Regions from separate parts of the Homo sapiens genome. Here regions 2, 3, 4 and 5 are each linked to region 1. The links are contacts of gene promoters, found by promoter capture Hi-C in blood cells and fetal thymus (Javierre and others, 2016). All regions are on one chromosome and are shown on one strand. The core of a region is centred on a gene start or on the middle of the fragment in contact, and the rest is flanking DNA. Distances in the headings are between cores, read along the strand shown. Region 1 holds the start of SLC17A6 (solute carrier family 17 member 6). Region 2 overlaps GAS2 (growth arrest specific 2). Region 3 overlaps GAS2 (growth arrest specific 2). Region 4 overlaps GAS2 (growth arrest specific 2). Region 5 overlaps GAS2 (growth arrest specific 2).

Region 1 (2,594 bases), core at 40-2,539:
GACTTCAATTTCCCAAATATTAAAATTAGTGCTCCTTTGTAATTCTTTTTCCTTTTATGTCTGCCCTGTCGTCTTGATTTTGCTCTAATTATTAAGAAAAGCTGTATCCATATAACATACTTGAAATGATTTAAAGTTTTGCAAATTACAGCATAATTAGTATAGTGACTACAGGAGGATTAAATAATTAAATCATTTCTAGGACTTTCAAAGTAATGTTGCTTGTTATATTTATGGCTGTTCTTCCAGGCATTGACATTTCCTATGCAAGAAATAGACTCTAGGAGATGAAAATAATTAAAAATGCATATACATTGTTTCAGGCTCAGAGAAAGGAATTGCTTCAACTATCAATTATTGATATATTTTGATTCTTCTTCATTCAATACAGAAGACATATTTCACTAGGGGATTCTCTACTATGCTTTTGAAGCTGAGACCTCTCTCTTTCTCTCTCTCTCTAACATATATATATATATATATATATAAAACATATATATATAACATATATATATAACTATATATAACATATATATATAACATATATATATAACATATATATATAACATATATATATAACATATATATATAACATATATATATATATAAACCATTACTCTTTGGAATTTCTTGGTTATTTTTTTAGATGGTTGTGTTTTATATTCATTTGTCTGCATCAAAGGAATTTAATTCGGGGTATCTATAAGCACCAAAAGAAACGCTGTTTGAGCAGGGGCTGGCCATTTCTTAACTGTAAAGAAGATAAATCCTGTGTAGTAAAGGACAAAAACTCTGCAGGCACCAAAGCAAAAATCAAACACACACACACACACACACACACACACACACACACACACCAGACAGGTTCATTTAGTGCAACATTCCTGCATTAATAAGCAGGTTTCCAGAGCACCCCCGCTCCAAGCAATGGGCAACAAAAAGACTTTCCGATCATATTACAATCTTTCTGAGCCACCAGGGTTTACGGAAACGGCCCTGCAGATTTTTTCATGCTGAGCCCCAGGTAAGCAAGTGTTCGCTTTGTCTTACCTGTAGATCTGGCCGAGTGATTTTCCAGCAAAATTCTTTAGCCCCTCTTTTCCTGGGGCCAAAATCCTTTGTTTTACGGATTCCATTCTTGCAAAGACTGTTGTCAGTTCTTGCCAGATTTAAATAGTGATTGCTAGGAAAGGCGAGGATTGCGCATATTGTCTTAATCTCTTAAAGTAGTTGCGGGCTTTTCCTTCTCAGCAGAATGGTAGTGGCTCGCCTCCAGCAAGAGTGAGAGTGAGAGAAGGGAGGGAGAGTGAGAATGAGAATACAACAGAATAGCTGCATGCAACCCACGGGTTTCCTAATAGGAGAGTTGGTAGACACAATCAGAAAGTCTCATTGGAAGGGGAGGATCCGGTGGCAAAGAGCGCAAGCAGTGCCACGGTATTTGGGTAGATGCGGTTGAGTCCTTTTCCTGGAAGTCGGTCAGCTGAAAAACAATGTAAATTCCCGGTTTTGAAGACTTATTGCTCTCAAATCTGATGGCTTTTAAACGGAGGGGCCGGAATATCACAGAAGCCTTGGGAACAGCAAAGTCAAAAGAATGGTACTTTTAAAAATGGTGTCTTTGCTGTAAGGAGCAGAGCATATTCAAAACTCATGGGAGCATCTCAGGTCTCAGGTGAGCAATGCTGCTATTAGTTTTTCCTCTCTGCCCATGATCTCCTCCCATCACGCCAGCGTAAGTCTGCTCTGCGGTAGAGTCAAATTAAGATGGAGAAGGCTTGCTGCTCTTTGAGGACGTGAGTAAATAAAAGATACACAGTTCTGATTTGGGCAGCCTCGGGGAAGATTTTTTTTTTCAGCGGCTGACAGCGCCCGTCTGGGCGGGTCTCGGTACAATGTTTCAGCACCACGGACAGAGTAAGTTTCAGGAATAGGGGACTCTTCTTTTGGCTAGCTAGGTTGCCAACTTTCTAGGGGAGCTGGGCGGATCGCCCTGACCAAGGACCATACGGGGGCTCTTCAGGAACGGATGCTATGGAAACCATTGGGAAGATGTCATCATCTCCAGAGTTTGCAGGGAGAATGGTGCATTTAGCTCTGCTAGGGAAGACAACTTTATTAAAAATTCACAAGTTACTTCTAGTTTGCTACGTTTTGTCCAGCACGCTGATGCCAGTATTGCAGGGAAGAAAGATTTCAACATATTTAACTTATGCTTGTGGTGTTCCAAGACACCTAGGCTCCCTTGAATATAAAATATGTGCACACAAAATACATAATTACATTGTTCATGTGTTTGTTTTAACTCCTGACAGGAAAAAGATGAAAGAAAGAAAGGGAGAGAATGAAGAATAGAGGAAAGGAGAGATAAAGAAAAAGAGGTGGGAGGTATGGAGAGAAGAAAAAAGAATAGCTATAAACTCAGTGAAGTTGATTAAATAAAATACAGTTAATTTAATATAAATTCCTTGGAATTTTAAGCATCTTTATTTAACTAATTTACAATACACTACTGAAATACCAATATACTGATGAAATATGTGGCTATACCTTGTGCTTGCCAACAAATTGTAATTGATAATTTAAAGATTTAT
Region 2 (2,594 bases), core at 54-2,553, 470 kb before region 1:
CTACTGAAAAAAAAAAAAAAAAAATTAGCTGGGCATGGTGGCAGGCGCCTGTAGTCTCAGCTACTCGGGAGGCTGAGACAGGAGAATTGCTTGAACCTGGGAGGCAGAGGTGGCAGTGAGCTGAGATCGTGCCACTGCACTCCAGCCTGGGTGACAGAGTGAGACTCCATCTCAAATAATAATGATAATAATAATAATAAATAAATATGGAAATTGACCCTCCCTTGTCTTAAACTTGAAACTTAAATTGGTCTTATCTGAGTTTCTTCCTCAGCAAACTGACCTTTAGGCAAGGAACAGATGACACCAGACAATTAAATGCCAGACTCCTTGCCCCTCCCTAAAATTCCTGTTTTCCTACATGTAGCTACATTCCTTCCCCATTATAGAAACCCTGAATTTTAATTGATTGGTGAAATGAATTCGAGACTGATTTGTTCTTCTTGGTTGCAGCACCCAAATAAAGCCTCCTTCCCTGGCAATACTCATTGTCTTAGTGATTAGCTTTCTATGTAGCAAGCAAGAGGATCTAACCCATGGTGTTTCGGTCACAGTACCATGTTGTTTTACATATGTAGACACTGAGAACCAGATTTTAGGACCCAAGCAAATCAAATCAAAGATCTGGTTCTCAGTGTACGCCTCTGTAAAACAAGAACCTGACTGGAGTCAGGTTGGACTGGAGCCAGATTCTTAGCACCTGACTCCAGTCTAGTCCTTTACTCATGACAGCTTTCACTAAAGAAATAAAATCACTAGGGCTTTTATAATTTCATCCACATATTCATATTCCCACAAGTTTCTGCATGTGTCTTACTGCCAGCTTCCAAAATTTGAAGTCACTGGGACAAAAACTGCCAAGGCCAGTGTCAGAATAACACTTTGATTCTTTCTACCACTGTTCGAGAGAGCAACTTTGCCTATTTTGAAGTTCTGGCACCTCCTAGCTCTGCAAATTACATTTAAGACTTGCCTCCAAACATTCTTGGTATCAATGCCCCTGGCAAAATGCCCAAGTCTAATTCAGTGTTTGTGAGCAGGCCATTTCAACCAGAAAGAACCACCAGTCACAACAGTTTTTAAACAATTCTAGGAAGCAGTGACAGAAACACTTTTCAGCCTGGAGTATGCTGGCCATTTAGGCACATATTCAGTTTGCTAATTTCTTAATGAATCCATAGTACTTTGCAAAGTGGATACAGCATGAAACAGAGTCCCATACTGAATATGAATAATACAGGAATTAAATTTCTGCTCACTTCCTCTTCCACATCCTTTCTACTGCAGATGTTGGTTTCAGTCCAATATTCTTACCACAGTCAATAGGGGAGGATTAGCAGGAAATACTTTTACAATGTATCTAGGTTTACTTTCCTGCCTTTGTAAGAGGAGTCTAATGGACATAATTGTATTTTTGTGAATAACATCTATCTCCAAAGTCTAGCTTTATCATGTGAAGGTTCCTTTGATAAGAGCTATAGTTGGAGGAGGCATACATCTTTGTTGATTGATTTTGTGTCATTGTGAGGCGGAGGGATATATTTGCTGTTTTCTCATTTTGAAACCCGAATCTAGGTTTTTCATGAGATTATCTCATCCTTTTGAAACTTGCCCAAGTGTCCCATAGAACTGATGTTTATGATTTCTTTTGAATAAACATAGACATTGACCCTCCCAGTCTTAAAATTTGAGAAAGTTAAAACTGTCTTATCTGAGTTCTTTTCTCAGAAAATCAATCATCAGGACTCCCAGACAGTGTCAAGCAACTGAAACTTACCAGATCATCACATCTGCACCATGGGAGCCAGACCCCTCACCCATCATGATTGCCTAAGGGACCACCTGCTTCTTGTAACCAACTTCTCCTCCTTGCCCATCCCTAATTCCTGTTTTCCTACACATAGTTATATTTCTTCTCTGCTATATAAACCCCTAATTTTAGTCAGTTGAGATGGATTTGGGACTGATCTCCTATTACAGGCTGCAGCACCTGAAAAAGCCTTCTTTCCTGGCAACACTCATTGCCTAGTGATTGACTTTCCACGCAGAGAGCAATAGGACAAAGACCAAACTGCTGGTGTATTGGTAACAATTTCCCTTTGACTGTTGTTCTGTAGGCAGTAACTGGAGAGGTGTTTTTCTCCAAAGGCGTGAGCTGACCTCCTTCCACTCCCAGGCTTTTAAAGGAAATAATGAACAGACAATTTATAGCTACATTTTAAAAACATGTTCCACAAAATTAGAGAATTGTTTTCCTTTTAGAAACAGATGCAACTTCCTTTAAAACATCTTACGTGAGACACTGCCTTATACGGACACCTTAAGAATGGGACATTACTAATAGTAAAATCAGATATCAGAGGTTTCTTTCTCTTGGAAGATTTCTCCTAGGTATCAGCCTTAGTAGTTTGTTTGGATTTTCCAATTATTGCAAAGACAGTTTTATATTTTTCCTGATCTTCTCTATGGACCTAGTCAGTGCTCTGCAGCTTGGGTCCTTATAAATTTATCAGAACTGTAAAATGCTTCTCTCTTGCTTTGAAGGAGTCGTTTTTTCTTTTTTCTTTGCTTTTCTGTTTCTAAGCTACACTGAA
Region 3 (2,594 bases), core at 45-2,544, 380 kb before region 1:
GAACATTCATAGTATCAAGGTATCTAACTATAACAACCAAGTGGCTTGAAAAATGATGAAAATATAGTCTTTAAGATAAAAATTATAGAAATGTTTAAAAAGGGAAAAAAAACTTTGTGGTATCTTAACCCTCTCCTGGGGACTCTGCAGTAAGACCCTGTGCCTCAAGCAGTGAGCTATGATTTAGGACAGTTGAACACACTAAGCTTGAATCCAAAATTGACCCTTTCTGCTTTCTCCCTCTCCAAGATAAATTCCACTTTATATAGAACAGATCTTAGATCAAAATTTTAGTGCAATATTCATGCTGTAATGCCATAGGAATATTCACATACACAAAAAGGAAATATAAAACAAGTTTCTCAGAGCAGAGTTTTAGTACACCTTTCTTCCTCTAAAATCATGAAATTAATCACTTAACTAACAAAGTTGGCAAATAAGTACAGCACTTTGAATTATCTGAAATCATCTCTGGAGTAATATAAACTAATGTTTGAAATGAAGGTCAAACCTAGTCCTCAAACCTCAGGCTTACAAGATGGACAATAAAAGTTACTATGTAAATAAGTTGAAAACATATCTACTAAAAACCTGCCCATGGATGCTTATAGCAGTTCTGTTCGTTGGAAACAACCAAGATGTCCTTTAGTAGATGAATAATAAAGAAACGATTGTAAAGTCAGACAATGGATTATTCGGTGCTAAAAATAAAGAGCTATCAAGTCATGAAAACACAAGGTGGAAGTTTAAATGCATATTACTAAGTGAAAGAAGCCAATCTAAAAAAATACTACAGGCTGTATGATTCCAACTACATGACAATCTGGAAAAGGCAAACCATGAAGACAGTAAAAAGATCAGGGTTTAGCAGGGAGGGATGGATGAAAAGGTAGAGCACACAGAATTGTTAGGTCAGTGAAACTATTCTGTATGTAATTATATTGGTGGATACACGTCATCTGTAAAAACCCAGACTGTTTAACACTAAGAGTGAACCCTAAAAACTATGGACTTTGGGTGACAATGTGTTAATGTAGGTTCAATGACTGTTAACAAATATACCACTCTGGTGTACTTTCCACTCAATTTTGCTGTGAACTGAAAGCTTCTCTAATAGGTGAAATCTAAAAATGTTGAACTCATAAAGTCAGGGACTAGAACGGTGATTGCCAGGGGTAGGAGAAAGGGGTTGAGGGCTTGGGAGATGTTAGTCAAGGGTACAGTTTCAGTTAGCCAGCATGAGTAAGTGCTGGAGATCTATTGTACAACCTGGTGACTATTATTAATAACAATGTATCACATAATAATTGCTAAGAGAGAAGATTTTAAACGTTCTCGTCAGAAAAAAATAAGTGGAGTGATGAATATTTTAATTACCTTGATTTAATCATTTCATAACGTATGCATATATGAAAACATCACAAATACACCATAAATATATGTAATTTTTGTTACATGTTAATTATACCTTAACAAAGCTTTAAAAAAATGTCTACAAAAAGATTACTATGTCATTGATAGTTTGAGAAGTATCAAATGCTTCGCAAAGGGGAAAGTATAGGAAGTTTGACAACAAATGCATTCCTTCCATTTTTATATACTGTGTGCCTAATTTATATATACATCCACATGGGAATCATCATCAACTACGAACAGCTTCTTTTCTCCCAACTAATCGTTTGCATATGAACAGACTGAGATTAATTTCTTAAAACCTCCAAAAATCTAGTTCTACACTTTAAAATTAAGTCAATTGGTGAGCCTATCTAAAAAATTTAAATAGAAATCTCAGTGTTCATAATGAGGAGTAATAGAAAGATTTTAATATTTATTATTATTATTATTATTTCAATAGTTTTGGGGAAACAGGTGGTGTTCCATTACATGGCTAAGTTCTTTAGGTATAATTTCTGAGATTTCGGTGCACCCATCACTTGAGCAGTGTACAATGTACCCATTGTGCTGTCTTTTATCCCTCAACCCCCTCCCACCCTTCCCCCAAAGTCCCCATAGTCCATTATATTATTCTTATGCCTTTTCATCTTCATAGCTTAGCTCCCACTTATAACTGAGAACACACAATGTTTGGTTGTCCATTCCTGAGTTACTTCACTTAGAATAATGGTCTCGAACTCTATTCAGGTTGCTGTGAATGCCATTATTTCATTCCATTTTATGACTGAGTAGTATTCCATGATACATATATACACACAAACATACACATACACACACACACCATATATATATATATGACACATTTTCTTTATCTACTTATTAGTTGATGGATATTTAGGCTGGTTCCATATTTTCGCAATTGCAAATTGTGCTGCTATAAACATGCGTGTGTAAGTGTCTTTCATATAATGACTTATTTTCTTCTGGGTAGATACTCAGTAGTGGGATTGCTGGATCAAATAGTATTTGCACTTTTAGTTCTTTAAGGAATCTCCATACTGTTTTCCATGGTGGTTGTATTAGTTTAATTTCCCACCAGCAGTAAAAAAAAGTGTTCCTTTTTTTACCATAGCCATGCCAACATCTATTATTTTTTGATTTTTAAATTAAGGCCATTCTTGCAGAAGGTGGTATCACAT
Region 4 (2,594 bases), core at 28-2,527, 360 kb before region 1:
AATAACATCATCTCTTGTTGCTAACATATACTCAAACTATCCAATTTTAAAGTAACATATATAAGTAGGACTCAATTATTATAAAATATTTGTTGTTGGTAATATTCAATATTATAAAAGATTGATAAAATGAACTTGCTATACTCCATGATCATATTTAACTCCTTTTGAGTTACCTATTGTTTAATAACACATTTTCAGAAAGTCGATAGCAGTATTTACTGTGCAGTTTTCCTAAGTACTAGAATTCTGATTCTCTCCTGCAGTTTTATAGAAATTGTATTTTTACATTGGTTGTTAAATAGTGCTTTGGCAGACAGCAATTAGCTGCTCTGATAGAAAATAAAGGTTCTAATATTCTCATTTCCCTCACCAACTATTTTATTGAGCAAAAGAGGCAGTTATTGGGAAAAAGATGCAAAAGAAAAAAAATGATTTCATCTTTATGTCTCCTCTAGTAATCGAAAGACACAGCACTTCGTTTCAGGTCAAAAACATCTTTTGAGAACCTGTTACCTAAAAGCCCTACAATTTAATTTTTCTTCCTAATTTTCAATGGTGAGCAAATTCATGAAACCATTAGCTATCGCTCATCTGATGCTTATTTTATACTGCAAGCAGTATAATCAGGCCTTGAAAAGAAATCCTCAAACTGAATGAACCATTGGATATAAATATGCTCATTTTTATCATAATTTTTACCTTTATATAATGCTCTGAACTCAAATAATACATCATGTCACTATATAATAACATTTACAATTAACTAAATGATTATCCTCCTCCAAGATCCACTTTTTCTTAACTAGTTTAAATCCCCATGGTCTGTTACTTCAGCCAATCTCTTGTCAGTGCTTTTAACGTCCTCAGATCCTTATTGTTTCCCTAGACCATTCTAAAATTCTCAAATCTTCCGTCTTTACGACTGGAAAAGTCAGATTTGCTCCTCATGCTTTGTCACATCAAAGGCTTTTGAGCTAAGCAAACAGGCAGAGGGGGGAATTTCAAACTTAATGAGAATAAAGTCTTCAGGATTAAAAAGCAAAGATGGCTAAAACCCACGGATAACAGTATTCTGGATCTAAAGGTAAATATCCATCTTGGGGCATTTATTTATTCATTCATCCAACACCATGTCTACTGAGCATCTATATGCTAGGTATTATGTTAGACTCACAGATGAATAGAACATAAACTATGTACTCAAGGATCTTAGAGTCTAGCAAAGGGATAAAGACTAGGAAACAACTAAGTACAACAGTATGGTACAAGAAAGAGGGGTTAACATGCAGATGGACAAACCGTAAGAAAGAGGCCAGATCTACAGATACAGAGTGTAGAGACTGCAAGGGCATCTCTACACTTCCAGTATCCTTTTCCCTTCTTAGGTAAGAGCATATTAATTTTCCATAGGGACACTATGGTTCTTTCATTTTATTCAGACTGAGCAATCAAGGTATGAAGCCATGATCTAGTCAGAAAGTTGGCTGTCCATCAGGCTCTTTCTTGCTGAAATGTTAATCTTGAGAGGAATGATACAATAAAGTTAACAGCTAAATGTTAATGAGCACCCATATGTACTAGGTACCACTCAGTGCTTGTGTATACTAACTTACTTAGTCCCCATAATAACCAAATGAGGTAGCTACAATTATTACTACATTTTACAAATGAGAAAACTAACGCACAGAGGAGGAGTTATGATTTCAACCCAGGTAGTATGACTACTGAGTATACACTATTAACCATTTCTGTTCAGCTGCCCTCTCTAAAAATGTCTGAAATTATTCACCCTAACAGTGGTACTGTGAAATGACTGTGTATCTATGCTGCATAATCCTTGCAAATAGTCTAATTCTTAAGCCCTCCAAATCCAGTTTCACTTTCCTTCACATGTCTTTTTTCTCTAAGCAGTACCCCCATATCTTTCCAATACATTCTTTTGGCAGTAAATTCATCTTTTCCAATAATTTCAGATTTAAAAAATCTACCTGTCACCTGATTCCCCACAAGGCATTTCTCTTCCCTGAATGCATAGTAAAGAGTTTGGGTCCCTTTGTAGATTTGAAGGAAGGGGTACAGTAAAGACTTGAGATCATTACTCCCCTCATTTAGAATTCTCCCTTCATTCTGTACATTTATCTCAATAAATTCATCTTTTCCAAAAATTTCTTTGGTACCAGAGTATGGAGTTAAGTTGTCAGGACTCAGAAAAATATGTTATATTTGGAATTGGTGTTGAGACCGATAATGGAACACAACTGTGGAATAGAAAACTAGCAGCCTATGCTATTTACACAGGGGCTAGAAAAGAAACAGATTTTGTGGGGGCTTGAGCTTATTTTATTTGGGTGCTTTCCTTATAGAAAACAACAGAATTATAAACACAAAATAAGATATGGAATTAAACATTTTAGCCTAATAAAATAAAGCACAAGAAATTAATAACTTTTAAAAGATGGTAAACACTAGAACCATCACAAAGCACAGAAAAACAACATAATATTTCTTATTAATTAACTGCATGAATGAATGCTACTTCACATTTTCTTAAATATTCTTGTTTTATACTGTTTGGTCACCTCTTCTTAAAA
Region 5 (2,594 bases), core at 58-2,557, 340 kb before region 1:
TTTGTCTTCTTTAGTATGTTACAAACCTTGAGGTATATCTTTTTTATTATTATTTTTTGTATCTCCTACAGAGGTAAGCATAATGTTATTCACATACTAGGCACCTAGTAAATGTGCTCAGTGAGCATGTGAATGAACAAATGAAGAAATAAGCTGCTAGAAAACTTTGAGAAAACATTAATATTATTTTTGTGAAACACAGTTAAGTCAAAAGCAAAAAAAAAAAAAGAAATTATTTTAAAGTTTTATACCAAGATGCTCAAGGCTTATCTTTTATCTTAAGAAACAGGCATGTAGTTCAATTCCATGAACCTTAAAATAAATATAATCTGGCCGGGTGCAGTGGCTCACTGTAATCCCAGCACTTTGGGAGGCCAAGACAGGCAGATCACCTGAGATCAGGAGTTCAAGACCAACTTGGCTAACTTGGTGAAACCCTGCCTCTACTAAAAATACAAAAATTAGCCAGGTATTGTGGCACATGCCTGTAATTCCAGCTACTTGGGAGGATAAGGCAGGAGAGTGGCTTGAACCTGGGAGGCGGAGGTTGCAGTGAGCAGATATCACACCACTGCACTGCAGCCTGGGTGACAGAGTGACACTCTGTCTCATAAATAAATAAATAAATAAAATCCGACTGGAACAACAGATGAACCATTTAAGTTAAACTCAGAATATCTAATATATTTGGATTTCAAGAAACATCTGCTTAAAATGACTTTTTTTTTCCATTTTTGGGAGCAGTCTTAAGGAAAACAAATTACTTTTTAAGTAGTTCATATTTTAGCCCCCAATTAAAATAATGACTTCTGCAGGTGGAAAAACATCAGTAGCTTTAAATACTCACCACACAGGTAGCCTGTGCAGAACTTTTATTTCAAAATTGTGTGCAGCTCAGTTCAGAAATGAAAGTAGCATGCCCAAAATACAAAAAAGCCAGTGTAACAGAATTTGTATTGTGTATTCATCATATTGGCCTGCATTTTCTCTTTTTTTTTTTTTTTTCCTTTTTTTTTTTTTTTTTAGCAGAAAGTGACTAACCACAGGCTGGAGTGCAGTGGTGCGATCTCGTCAGGCTGGAGTGCAGTGGCACGATCTTGGCTCACTGCAACCTCTGCCTCCCAAGTAGCTGGGACTACAGGCATGCACTACCATGCCCACCTAATTTTGGTATTTTTAGTAGAGACAGGGTTTCACCATGTTGGCCTGGATGGTCTCGATCTGTTGACCTAGTGATCTGCCCGCCTCAGCCTCCCAAAGTGCTGGGATTACAGGCATAAGGCACCACGCCAGGCCACATTTTCTAATAAGAAAATTATTTCACAAAATTACAGAAAGTAAATATTAGAAATAATTCTCTTAATTATAATGTTATTCAAATAAGTTTAAATTTTAAGATAAAGAAGATAAACTTTACTCTAAATTGTTGAATTATTTCTTTACAAATTATTTGCAAGATTTTCTACGTTTGTAATAGATCTTTATGTATTCTTATTTCATTAAGTTCTATGGCAATTTGAAGATTCCATTCATAATTTTAAGTTATAAGATAGTTACAATATACTTAAAACAACACATAAATCATAAAAAGAAAAAAATGGCTTTCATTAAAAAGCCATTAACAATTTACCAAAAAGTATGATTTTTACTTTTTATACATTATATCTTTTTAGTTATCCTGTTTTTCATGAATACTTGTAAAAAGAATTTTACATTGAACATCTGTATCTAATGAAAAATATATTAGGTGTCAGCTTTCAATTCTGTATATTTTATAGCTCTGAAAGGTGAGTTTTTTTTGGCAAAAACAGACTATTACATACTTTATAGTTGAAATGTACTACCTCAAATGAAGAAAAAACACAAGTCTGAGACTTTTTAAAATAACTTCATGTGTAACATATTTTCCTTCCAATGATTAAAAATTATTAAATATATACTTTATGATTACAATCAATGTATGATTGTAAGAAATCAGTTATAATCTTTATATGGGGATGATATATTATCTCATTATTACATTAATATTAATATTATCAACAGTATTTTTTTCAAAAAAATATAATATAAAAGTAGCTGAATTTATCCATGGCAAATTCTTAAGAACAGGCTGTGTAGAAATAATTACACTTTCTCAAGTAAAAGTCATACAAAGGTAAATATCTCTGTTACACAGAATCAAATCTTCTTTAGTTTAAATTGTGCACCTGGTTTAACACATCAGACTACATGTACTGGAAGCAGTGTGATTTTAGCACCAGAGAATCATTTCTTCCCTAACCTCAGCATTTCATTGTGGTTGGTGTTTGTAGGGAAAGAAAGAACAATAAATGAATACAATTAAATCATGTTAAAGTCCTGACCGGTGCTGGTCCGTAAAGACATTGGTTTGAACATTAATCTAGAGTGTCCTAGTTTAGAAGTAATAGTTTCACTTCCTAAATTTATAATTGCGATATTTGATCTTCGCATGATTAATTTAGTCAAGAATGACAACTTGCCAGTAGATCAAAATCAGGAAATTTGATTAAATATTGTGGCTAGTTGCTTTATGTTAAAACATTATAGCTCAATGGTGGGATTTCAGTTGCCTG

Evidence for each region. Contacts are between HindIII fragments. The CHiCAGO score rates a contact against its expected background, and 5 or more counts as called.
Region 2: a fragment that was not itself captured here is called in contact with the fragment with the promoter of SLC17A6 in region 1 in 13 of 17 cell types (erythroblasts, naive B cells, naive CD8 T cells and 10 more); the score reaches 13.3 in erythroblasts.
Region 3: a contact is called between a fragment that was not itself captured here and the fragment with the promoter of SLC17A6 in region 1, in 11 of 17 cell types (naive B cells, total CD8 T cells, naive CD8 T cells and 8 more). The highest score is 16.0, in naive B cells.
Region 4: a fragment that was not itself captured here is called in contact with the fragment with the promoter of SLC17A6 in region 1 in 4 of 17 cell types (naive CD8 T cells, total CD8 T cells, naive B cells and 1 more); the score reaches 8.2 in naive CD8 T cells.
Region 5: a contact is called between a fragment that was not itself captured here and the fragment with the promoter of SLC17A6 in region 1, in 2 of 17 cell types (naive CD4 T cells and naive B cells). The highest score is 5.5, in naive CD4 T cells.

The regions. Positions count from the first base shown.
Region 1 is chr11:22,337,076-22,339,669 of GRCh38, reverse strand. It overlaps SLC17A6 (solute carrier family 17 member 6), which reads right to left and starts at 1,289. Exons shown (of 12, transcript NM_020346.3): 1 at 1,051-1,289. The coding sequence starts at 1,136. SLC17A6-DT (SLC17A6 divergent transcript) reads left to right here and starts at 1,448. Exons shown (of 4, transcript NR_186351.1): 1 at 1,448-1,675. The HindIII fragment of the contact is 7,348 bases long and covers 1-2,594 here.
Region 2 is chr11:22,807,085-22,809,678 of GRCh38, reverse strand. All of the region lies in intron 7 of GAS2 (growth arrest specific 2), which reads right to left. Among named protein-coding and RNA genes, the nearest start is that of LINC02718, 21 kb to the left of the region's middle. The HindIII fragment of the contact is 3,456 bases long and covers 1-2,594 here.
Region 3 is chr11:22,717,916-22,720,509 of GRCh38, reverse strand. The region is part of intron 3 of GAS2 (growth arrest specific 2); the gene reads right to left. Among named protein-coding and RNA genes, the nearest start is that of GAS2, 53 kb to the right of the region's middle. The HindIII fragment of the contact is 373 bases long and covers 1,108-1,480 here.
Region 4 is chr11:22,698,772-22,701,365 of GRCh38, reverse strand. All of the region lies in intron 3 of GAS2 (growth arrest specific 2), which reads right to left. Among named protein-coding and RNA genes, the nearest start is that of GAS2, 33 kb to the right of the region's middle. The HindIII fragment of the contact is 2,861 bases long and covers 1-2,594 here.
Region 5 is chr11:22,681,300-22,683,893 of GRCh38, reverse strand. The region is part of intron 2 of GAS2 (growth arrest specific 2); the gene reads right to left. Among named protein-coding and RNA genes, the nearest start is that of GAS2, 16 kb to the right of the region's middle. The HindIII fragment of the contact is 3,764 bases long and covers 1-2,594 here.